Regions from separate parts of the Homo sapiens genome. Here region 1 is linked to region 2. Evidence: promoter capture Hi-C in 16 types of primary human blood cells and fetal thymus (Javierre and others, 2016). All regions are on one chromosome and are shown on one strand. Each heading gives the region's core, a stretch centred on a gene start or on the middle of the fragment in contact. The rest is flanking DNA. Distances are from core to core; before and after follow the strand shown. Region 1 overlaps HDAC4 (histone deacetylase 4). Region 2 holds the start of COPS9 (COP9 signalosome subunit 9).

Region 1 (4,586 bases), core at 361-2,860, 1.0 Mb after region 2:
CTGCATCCCTCTCCACTCAATTTCAGCCACACGCCTTTTGAGCACCTCCAATGGTGTTCCCGTTTTGCTGATCTAAGTAATACTATGAAGATTATGCATTTATATGAATTTTCTTAGACCTATTCCTGGAAGTAGAATGCAAAAAAATAAAATTAACCTCGTTGAGTTAAAAGTGGGTGGAAAGTTACACATATAATTTTTACCGCCCCAAAAAGTTGTCCGGACTCCCCAGGCACATGCGTGAGGGTATTTATCTGACGACACAGCTGGGAGGCACCCATTACAGGGAAGATCTGCTGGATCTTGGTGTGTAGCTGGAGACAGCTTGACATCAGAGAGCAGGGGTCTAGGGTGGGCTACGGTGGGCTGCAGGTGGGGCAGAGATGGGAGAGTTGGAGGGGCCTGGAGAAGGCGGGTCCTGCTTTCTTGAGTGAAATGCAAACACTGGCTCAGCCCAGGTGGCATTCTCAGAATGCCCACTCACAGTGCAAATAACATGGCCTCGGCAGCGGGAGAAGCCTACCTCTGGAGTTAGTGTCTGGTGGAAGTGAGAGGGTGAGAGGGCCAGGGAAAGAAAGAGGATGGGGTAGGGTCGGGACCCAGTCCTGTATTCATGCTCAATGCCCAGGACAGTGAGCTGACCCCACACTCTTTTGAGCTCCAAGAGCCATGGGGAGCGGCTGGTGTAGGGCTTCTGGGTGGACACCCTGGTTTGCCCTTGGGAGGTTTAGACTGCCCTGCTGTTGAGGGCAAGATGTTCCCAGGGTGTTCCTGGTGGGCAGCGTGGTCAACAGAGGAGGTGCGCCTTCACCACCCAGCTGGGTTAACTCTGGTATGCAGACGCCCATGACAGTTCCCTCAAGCCACGTGGCCTGGGACGAGTGATGTTGCTGCTCCATGCCTCCATCTCCTCTTCTGGGAAACGGGGTCATAATGGCACCTTCCTCAAACAGTGACTGAGAGATGGATGAGCTAATAAAGGCAAAGTTTGGAATCAGGTCTGCCAGGTTGGGGGAGCTGTGGGTGGCTTTACCTGTTCCCCCACCCTCCTCATCCTCCTCACTGTGGCTCGGGGCTATATTTGCAGAGTCACCACCTCCAGCAGGCGTGGATACCACGTGAGTCAGCATGAGTGGGCACCTGCGTCCTCGTGGGCTCCAGGAGGACGCGGGCAGCAAGCAGACCGTGGAGGAGGCTTTGCTGGGGATGGCTCCGTTGAGGGGCTGCTTGGGGAAAACATCCCTTAACCTCCCCTCCAGGGCCCCCACCATGTCCCTTCCTTCTGACCTGTATGCGCTGCGCATATAGGTTGGGGCGAGGTTCTGAGCACCCAGAGTCGTTGCTGAACAGCAGACGCCTAGAGTTCTCGAGGCAAATGGGTCACATTGTGTTTTCTTTGGAAAGCTTTAACCAGATGATGCCATTGTTAAAATGCCGTTAAACTAAACATATGACAAGCCAAACAAATCCTTGTGTGAATATCGAGAGCCTCAGCGGCCTCCCACGGTGGATGTGTGTGCCCAAAATAGCAGCAGACCCCTTCAGAGGTGAAGGGATCTTTGGATTGGACGTGGCCCCTTTTGGAAGTCACATTCAGTCAGAGCGGAACCTGGTCTCATTAACCAGGGTCAAGCCGCACCGATGGTTAAAGATCCTCTAAGACTGTCCGAGCGTGTGTTTTCCAGTAGCACGGATAGATCTCAGGAGACACTGGCTATATTTTCCCCTGGATGCTTGCTGCTATGTAGGGAAAATGAGAGGATTCAGCTCAGAGTGAACACTAATAGTAGGTTGCTTTATTTTGAACTAAGCTTTTTATAGTGAGCACAGGAAAGCTGACCTTTTGCTTTTCAAAGTCACTTAGCTTCTGCATTTTCTGGTCTTCTGTTGTTAGGTCACTAATAAGTGTTTAAGGATTTATCTTTTTGGTGTTTAAAATTGTCTTGAAAATCAAACGAGGTATAAAATTGGTAACGTACATGTCCTAGAAAAAGTGAAGTCAGTGGCAAAACTGGAAAATCAGAAATCAGCATCATACTTTCTTTTTTGAAACCATGGCCATGTTCTTTTTGTTGGGACTTCTGCCTGTCGCAAGCTAACGAGCAGGTCCGTGGAAGGCACCGGGCATTCGGGCCACAGGTCAGCACGGCCCTCCCTCCGCATGGAGTAACACTCACCAGGGTATTTCTGCCTCCGCAGACTCCGCGTGCAGCAGCGCCCCAGGCTCCGGACCCAGCTCACCCAACAACAGCTCCGGGAGCGTCAGCGCGGAGAACGGTATCGCGCCCGCCGTCCCCAGCATCCCGGCGGAGGTCAGTGCGAAGCGTTTGTCCTGTGTCCTACGGCTAGAGTCGGACTCGGGACGGATGAGCTTGAAATGACCCCACTTTGCACTTGCCCTTCACTCTTCACCTTCCAATTTGGGGTGAGGGAAAGTGGCCTGTGAGCCATCCTAAAAAGGACGCAGTTGGAGGTTACTCTCCTGCCTTCCTCTCATCACAGACATCTCCTTTCATTATGAACACGCTAGTTCCAGGCACGTCGGGGACAGCCCTGAGCCTGGTCCTTTCTCCTGACCTCTTCCAGAGCAGATGTCACTAGATGGTGTCCCAGCACAAGCCCACGCATGGCAGGTGCTCTAGGTGGACAGGATCCCTGCTGCCCAGCTCGCTGTGGTCGCCAGTGCTCTGAGGGTGGCTGAGAGGCCGTGGGCACGTGGGTATAGTTGCTAAGTGAGACTTAACATTTTTTATTTTGTATTGAGAAATACACAACACGATGTCGGCCAACAAACTATGTGTCAGGGCCGACTGGAGCGTCACCCGTGGTCAGCATGGCAGGGCCGGCCAAAGCCACAGAGCGGGGAACTTTTCCAGGCATCACGGGAACCAGGCATCTCAGACCGCAGAGCTCAGCACCCCTGGTCCCCTGCCTTCATCAGACCCCAAGTGGTGCCACAGTCTGGGAGGGACATTGGCAAGCTAGAGAGGAGTCAGGGGACGCTTGGAGTCCCTAGGTGGGAAAGATGTCAGAGACGCAGGAGCTGAGTGGCAAGGCAGGGAGGAGTGGCGCCCAGGCTGGCCGAGTCGCACACTGACCATACTCGGAGGCTTTCCAGGGCAGCAGGTCCGAGGACCTCGCTCCGTGTTCCTTGAGCTCCTTTGCGCCCCCTGCCTTTATCCCACACGTGTCCCGAGCGCCTTGTGCCAGGCCCAGGGACAGAACCAGGCAGGCAGCAAGGACCTGCCCCACACTCCACACAATGCCCCACTGACAAGGAGAGGCCACCCCCAGAGCACGGGGAAGAAGAGAGAGGCAGAGAGAGGCAGTCCCGCAGGCTGAGTGGTGCCCTGGGCCTGGGTGGGCCTGACTGCAGGGCAGGGGTGGGAGGGGTACGCTTTAGCAGTGAGTTTTCTGATGAGTTGAGCTGGAAATGCTGTGTCTGCTTCATGGGGCAGAGTTCTACTGAGTGGGAGGTTCTTTCTGAATTCTCTCCAACTTACAGAAGGCTATAATTTATTAAATATAGTTATTGACTTTCCTTCTTAAATATTTAGAAATGAATCCTGCCCTTCCAAAGGATTGGCAAATCTTAGCTGGGATACAGAGGCATGAGTGTTTAGCATTTTCATTTCAAATTTCAAGACCGTTTATGTATAAACATTTTTAGAGACTAGAATTACTGCTCAGAACGAATTTTGCCCTTTGTCTCCAGGCTGCTTAATCCCCAATTTCTCTTACTCTTTCTACTTCATACATCGATTTCTTTTATTACCTGTCTTCTTCAGCCTGCCAACTTCAGTACTTATTTAGATGATTAGAAGTTTTAACAGTCCTCTGTATGGCTGTGGTCATAGCTGAGGTCTACCAGTAATAAGCCTTATAATGCAACCTAGAAATTACTTCCTGCCCTGAGGTTAACACTGGTTGCATCTTGTTGATTGTGGTCCTAGATACATGTTTTTATTTAAAATGAGGCACTTATGTACATGGTAGTTAATATTGGAACAGTGCCTTGTTTGGGTGGGTCTGCATCATTCCAGTTCTGTGTTAATTTTTAGAAATCACGATACGTAAATGAAGCTACTGGAAATTAATAGAACATGTAGAAGGAGTTACAGGAAATACCAAGAGGTGCCATTGTTCATGTTCCACATCAGATGTTCATTAGAGTGGGCACGGGCAGCCTTTGCATGTTGGATCACACCCAGGCGCCCTTTCTGGGTTTCAGTATCTCTAGAGTTGGACGGGTCTGTGAGAACACCTGTGCTTCATGGCCAGGGGCTGGCTCTCCGTTCTCACGTGGTGCAGAGTGTAGTGAGCTTGCCCGTCAGAGGGGGTGTCTCGAGTGGATGAGGATGTGGGGGGAGCAGGGGCCTCCCAGCCTGGCTCTCAGCACTGCCTTTTCTGTTCACCCTGGGGTCCCTAGAAACACTACTGTACCTTGAAGGCCCCCTGGACCCAGGGAAGCCCAGTGTGCCGGGCACCTCCTCCTCTACAGTGCCAGGGAGGCCCAGAGTGCCGGCACCTCCTCCTCTACAGGCCAGGGAAGCCCAGTGTGCCGGCACCTCCTCTACAGGGAGGAG
Region 2 (5,113 bases), core at 527-3,026:
CTGTCCCTGGAACTACCCTCATCCATGCCGCCCCCCACTCCCCTTCTCTACAGCCTAACCCCCAAACCCAACTCCTCTAAGGCCTGTTAAAGGAAAACATTATTGGAAATTTTCAGAAGTTGTTCCGAACCCTGGAGACGGGTGTGGGGACCACTGCAACGGGATCTTGCAGTGGGGGAGGGAGACCAGGCTCAGCTCCGAACAGCACAGGCAGTGGGGGTTTGCGGCTGAGGAGCAGGTGGGGTCGCGGGTGGCAAATGACTGGGAGGAACACAGTGCGGGACGGGATGCTGGCTCGGCCGACCCCGCAGGGCTTTCGCTGAAGACAGGTCTGGGCCATCAGACATCCTGGGGATGCTGGGGGACCAGGAACCCGATCCAATATCCAGGGTGGGGGGCTCTGGCTAAACCAACTTAGCAGGGCTCTCTGCGAAAACTGAACCTGACAATGCAGTGCACAGATGGGCCTGGGAGGAGGTTAGGAGGCCACCGAAGTCTGGCTGAGCAAGGAATCTTTGGCAAAGTCTAGTTCCAGGACCTGTTGCTCTCTCTCCTTCCCTCCCCTGTTCTTCCTCTCTCCCTCTCTTCCTCCAACCTTCTCCCTCCTCTTACCCCTTTCCTTCTCCTTTCCCTCGCATTTCTGTCACATTCTTTTTTGTTGTTTTTTTCATTACGGTAAAACTTCACAAATTGTTTCCATCTTAACCACATTTCAGTGACGTTAAGCACATTCACGAACTGTGCAGCCATCACCAGCAGCCTCTACAGATCCTTTTCATCTGTCAAGGCTGAAAATCTGTCCCCACTAAACACGAACTCCCCATTTCCCCTTCCCCAGACCCTGATAACCCCCTTCTACTTTCTGTCTCTATGACTTTGACTCCTCTAGGGGCCTCGGCTGAGTGGAATCATGCGGTGTTTGTCTTAGGACTGGCCCGTTTCCCTCGGCAGAGCGTCCTCAATGTTCCTGCGCGTGGCAGCAGGTGTCGGCATTCCCTTCCTTTTAAAGGCTGAGTAATGTTCCACAGTGTGCATGGCCCACATTTGCTTATGCACGTATCCATCGATGGGCAGGGACAGCGGGGGACGCTTCCCTTTTTCATTTATTATAAATAACGCTGCTGTGAACGTGGGGTAAAGACGCCCCTTGGAGCCTCGGCTTTTGGTCCTCTGGGCTTGTGCCCGGAAGGGGAGTGCTGGGCCACGTGGGTGTCCGTGTTTGATTTTCTGGGACCTGCCCCCCCCCGTCTCCCGCCCCGGCTGCCGCGTCTCACTCCCCGCCGCGGTGCGAGGGGCCCCGTGTGCCGCGCACCCTTCCACCCGTGTTTTGCTGTTTTTTTGACTCTGGGCGTCCCAGGGGTGCAGCGGCCGTGGGGCCCTGGTTTGCTTTCACCTCTTCATCTGCTCACTGGCCGCGAGTGTGTCTTCTTCAGACAAACGTCTGAAGGTCAAGCCCTGGGCTCCTGTGAACCCGGCCGTCTTTGCGGCAGAGTCTGAGGCTCCTTCTTTATTCTGGATCCGGCCTCTGGTCGGAGGCGTGCTCTGCAGGCACTGCTCCCATTGCTGGCAGCCTTTTCTCCCCGTGGCCGCCCGGCCGCCCATCAGAGGCGTTGCAGACGCCCGCCCTCGCCAGCGCAAAGACAAACGCCGGTGGCCGCGGACGCGCCGGCGGCCGGGAGCACCCCAGCGGGCGGGCACCACAGAGGCGCGGTCCTCCGGCGTCTAGATCTGCCATGTGGCGCGCGCCGGAAGCGGCTCTGAGGCCGGAAGTGAGCCTAGAGCGCCGCGGCCCCGAGATGAAGCCGGCGGTGGACGAGATGTTCCCCGAGGGCGCCGGGCCCTACGTGGACCTGGACGAGGTGGCACGGGCCCGGCGGGAGTCTCCGAGCGTGGGGAGCGGGGAAGGGGGAGCGGAAGGGCGGCGTCCTGGTGCGCGGGTCCCGGGGAGGGGAGGCCGGGCGGGTGGGCGATGGGCGCGGCTCCCAGGCTCCCTGCCCCGCGGAGAGCAAATCCCGGTTTCTCCGAGCACCTGGTGAAAGGCGGCGACCGACCGCGGCGGGAAGCGTGTGCCCTAGCCCGGGGGACCAGGAGGCGCAGCCTGAGGGTTGAGTGCCTGCTGGGTGCCCCCACGGCCCCCGGGAACACACCCGTGGTCAGAGGAGTTGCGTTTGCTGCTCTTCGATGGCTGCAGCACCCCATGGGGGCCCGCGGTGCGTCTCCATAACCTCGTGTGGGATTTGAGCTCGTGTTAGGGGATTTGGGGGAAGAAAGTGGGCTTTACTGTGCCTTGGAAGCGAGGATAATTCTCCGATTGGGCCTCTTAATCTTAACTAGAATGAGGGAAGACTGGAGCAGCCGTCATTCCTGTCGGAGCGGAAAAGGAGACATCTGGCATTTATGTGCTTTGCGTAGTGGCCTCGTTCTTCTTTTTAATTATACAGGATTATACAGTCGTCTTGGGGTTTTGTTGGTCTCTATTGTGTTCACAGAGTGACCTTGTCTGATGTGAGCGTTCTGAGATGGTTTATGGTCAGCAGGAGAGCACCACAGCCTAGCTCAGAGTGGCAGGCCAGCTCCTACATGTCAGGGCCTTATGTGCTCTTTCTCAAAGCTTAGGGGCTGCAGAGGTGGTCAGAGGCAGCCCTTGTGCTTGTGGAGGTAATAGCATGGCAGAGCGGCTGATTGCAAATACCAGGTGTCATAGAAAGCCGAAGGCGCACCGACGGATGGACCCTCAGGGCTTTGAGGGGGCTCAGCAAAGGTACAGCTGAGGAGTCGACTCTGTGGCCAAATGCTGGGGGACACATTGGTGTTTGCCAGGTAGTGGGGGATGAAGGCCCGGCAGGAGCAGAGCCCTGGGTTGGGGGATGCCGACTGGCTCACCAAGGGAAGGGAATGTTGTGTCGTTTAACATGGTTGAGCGTGCAGTGCCAGAGAGAGGGGAGACAGTGGGTAGGGACTCTCTCCCTACCCAGATCGTGAAACCATCTGGAACCATGCTAAAGAGGGTGGCTCTGTGCACCCCGCTCCCGAAGCACTTCCATTAAACCCAGGCTTCTCAGTCCTGTTTTACAGTCCTAGGCTTCACAGTCCTAGGCGATGTGGAGCCACCGGAGGGCTTTACAGTGGGGAGTGAGAGGCTCCGACTTGCTCTGTAGGGTGGCAGCATTTACGGGTGAGAGGGTAGAAAAATGAGAGCAGGGAGAACAGGAGAGTTGAAGAGGGTGTGAATGAGGCAGATGGAGGTAGGGACAAGCTTCAAGTGGTAGAATGCGCGTGGCTTACTGTGCTGATGGGGACAGGGAGGGTGGCTGAGAAGCCAGGGGAGGAGACTGAGTGTCCTGGCTTTTCTGAGAGTGTCTGAAAGGGAACAAGGGCATGCAGCTATGTGGGGATCAGGGCAGGTCTGAGCAAGCGGCCTTGTGAATGCTGGGGCCAGGGCAGCAGCAGGACCTGTGGCCAGCTGTCCAGGGTGCTGCTGTCAGAGGAATCTGCTCCCTCTGTCACCGGTTGACTCTAAACAGGACCCAAAATCCTGAGGGCTTCAGATTGCCCAGCTTGGGTTGTGACATGGTTTTTCCACTGCCGTGGAGTTGTGGCAGTGGACGGTCCATGATAGCAGCGGGGCACCAGAACCTCAGAGGCAGAGCAGGTCAGTTTCCTCGGGGAAGTGGTTTCATTCCCAGAAGAGAGAGGGAAGGGATCCTGAGTGGAGGCGATGGGCTCAATTTCGCATGTTTGTGGCCTCTGGCGATGTCCGGCGAGGGATCGGAAAGCTCTCCTTGAGGGGCACAGAGAAGTAGTGGTGCTTAGGTCAGTGGTAGGTTTCTTTTTTAAAGGCAGACAGGAATCAAGGAACAGAAGCCCTTGAGAGACCTTAAAAATCATTCCTTTGAATTCCTCCCCCTCCCCCCAATACACATTCCTGTGTCTGGAACTAAAATGTTGACTCCAACTTGAGCCTGTTTCCCCTCACCCATCTTCTTTTTTTGTGGGGGTAGTGGCCCTGCAATGCACTTATCACCTGTTCTTTCGGAAAACGCACCTGACATAACCTTGCCTTTCCATTCCCCAGGCGGGAGGCAGCACCGGGCTCTTGATGGACTTGGCAGCCAATGAAAAGGCCGTTCATGCAGACTTTTTTAACGGTAAGGATGCTTGGAATGGGATGCCAGATTTAATCTGAATATTTCTTCTCTAGGTGAAGGCAGTGAAGCAACTTGGTGACATGAATAATTTGGATCATAAGGTGGTAGAGCCCCTGCGCTCCTCTCAGAATGCAGTGCAGCCTCTGTGGAGCGATGACACGGGCTGCGGCCACTGGCAGGCAGCCTTATTTTTCAGGAGAAAAGTAGCATGAAATTGTTCCCAGCTTGCAGCCCAGTAGTTGAGTTTGAGCTCTGGCATGCGTGTTACATGTGCCTGCGGACACCTCAGACTGTAGCCAGGTCTGGGCCCTCACCCCACACACGGCCATAGGAACCCCATCTGTCTCCCTGTCTCCGCCCTCTCCGGGTAGCCGGTTTCCTTTCCTCTCCCAGCCCACCTGTGTTTGCCTGCCTGGGTTCTCATGCCCTCAGCTGCCTTTGCAGAGGGACAGCCATACTCCAGCTCTTGCCCAGCTCTGAAATCAGGACGCAGGATGTGTTTTCCTCTTGATTTAAGGGCTTCAGTGCTAGTTACCAAAAACATGGGTAAACCAAATGAACAGTGAAAAGCAAATTTTCTGTAACATCTTCAGACCTGCTAGAGGGAATATTTCTCATTCTCTTCTGATTTCTTCAGGCCTTATTCCTATAGATGATATTAACCTTTACTAAGGGTTCAAATAATAAGTAAATAAGATAGGTTTCTTACTCCAGAGAGTGAGGTGGCATTTTTCATCCTGGTTTAATCCATGGTGCTTTTCTCTACAGAAAGCTCTTGTTACTAGTTAACAGCTAGGACCTGAGCTTGCCACATCGGTTTCTAATTTACCAGAGACCCCCTGCCATCCTGAGTCCCTGCTGCTTCATCAGGCTTACTGTCAGGCAGCCATTGCCTGAGGGGAGCAGCCAAGCTGCTGAGTTGGGGTGCAGGCTTTCCCAGGGTGCCTGGCCATGCCCCTGAGGCA

Evidence for each region. Contacts are between HindIII fragments. The CHiCAGO score rates a contact against its expected background, and 5 or more counts as called.
Region 1: a fragment that was not itself captured here is called in contact with the fragment with the promoter of COPS9 in region 2 in 1 of 17 cell types (non-activated CD4 T cells); the score reaches 5.7 in non-activated CD4 T cells.

The regions. Positions count from the first base shown.
Region 1 is chr2:239,137,410-239,141,995 of GRCh38, reverse strand. It overlaps HDAC4 (histone deacetylase 4), which reads left to right. Exons shown (of 27, transcript NM_001378414.1): 9 at 2,200-2,312. Among named protein-coding and RNA genes, the nearest start is that of MIR4441, 54 kb to the right of the region's middle. The HindIII fragment of the contact is 407 bases long and covers 1,407-1,813 here.
Region 2 is chr2:240,132,968-240,138,080 of GRCh38, reverse strand. COPS9 (COP9 signalosome subunit 9) reads left to right here and starts at 1,776. Exons shown (of 3, transcript NM_001163424.2): 1 at 1,776-1,859; 2 at 4,076-4,148. The coding sequence starts at 1,797. RefSeq lists enhancers at 1,255-1,364, 1,375-1,474 and a silencer at 1,915-1,964. The HindIII fragment of the contact is 4,227 bases long and covers 1-2,613 here.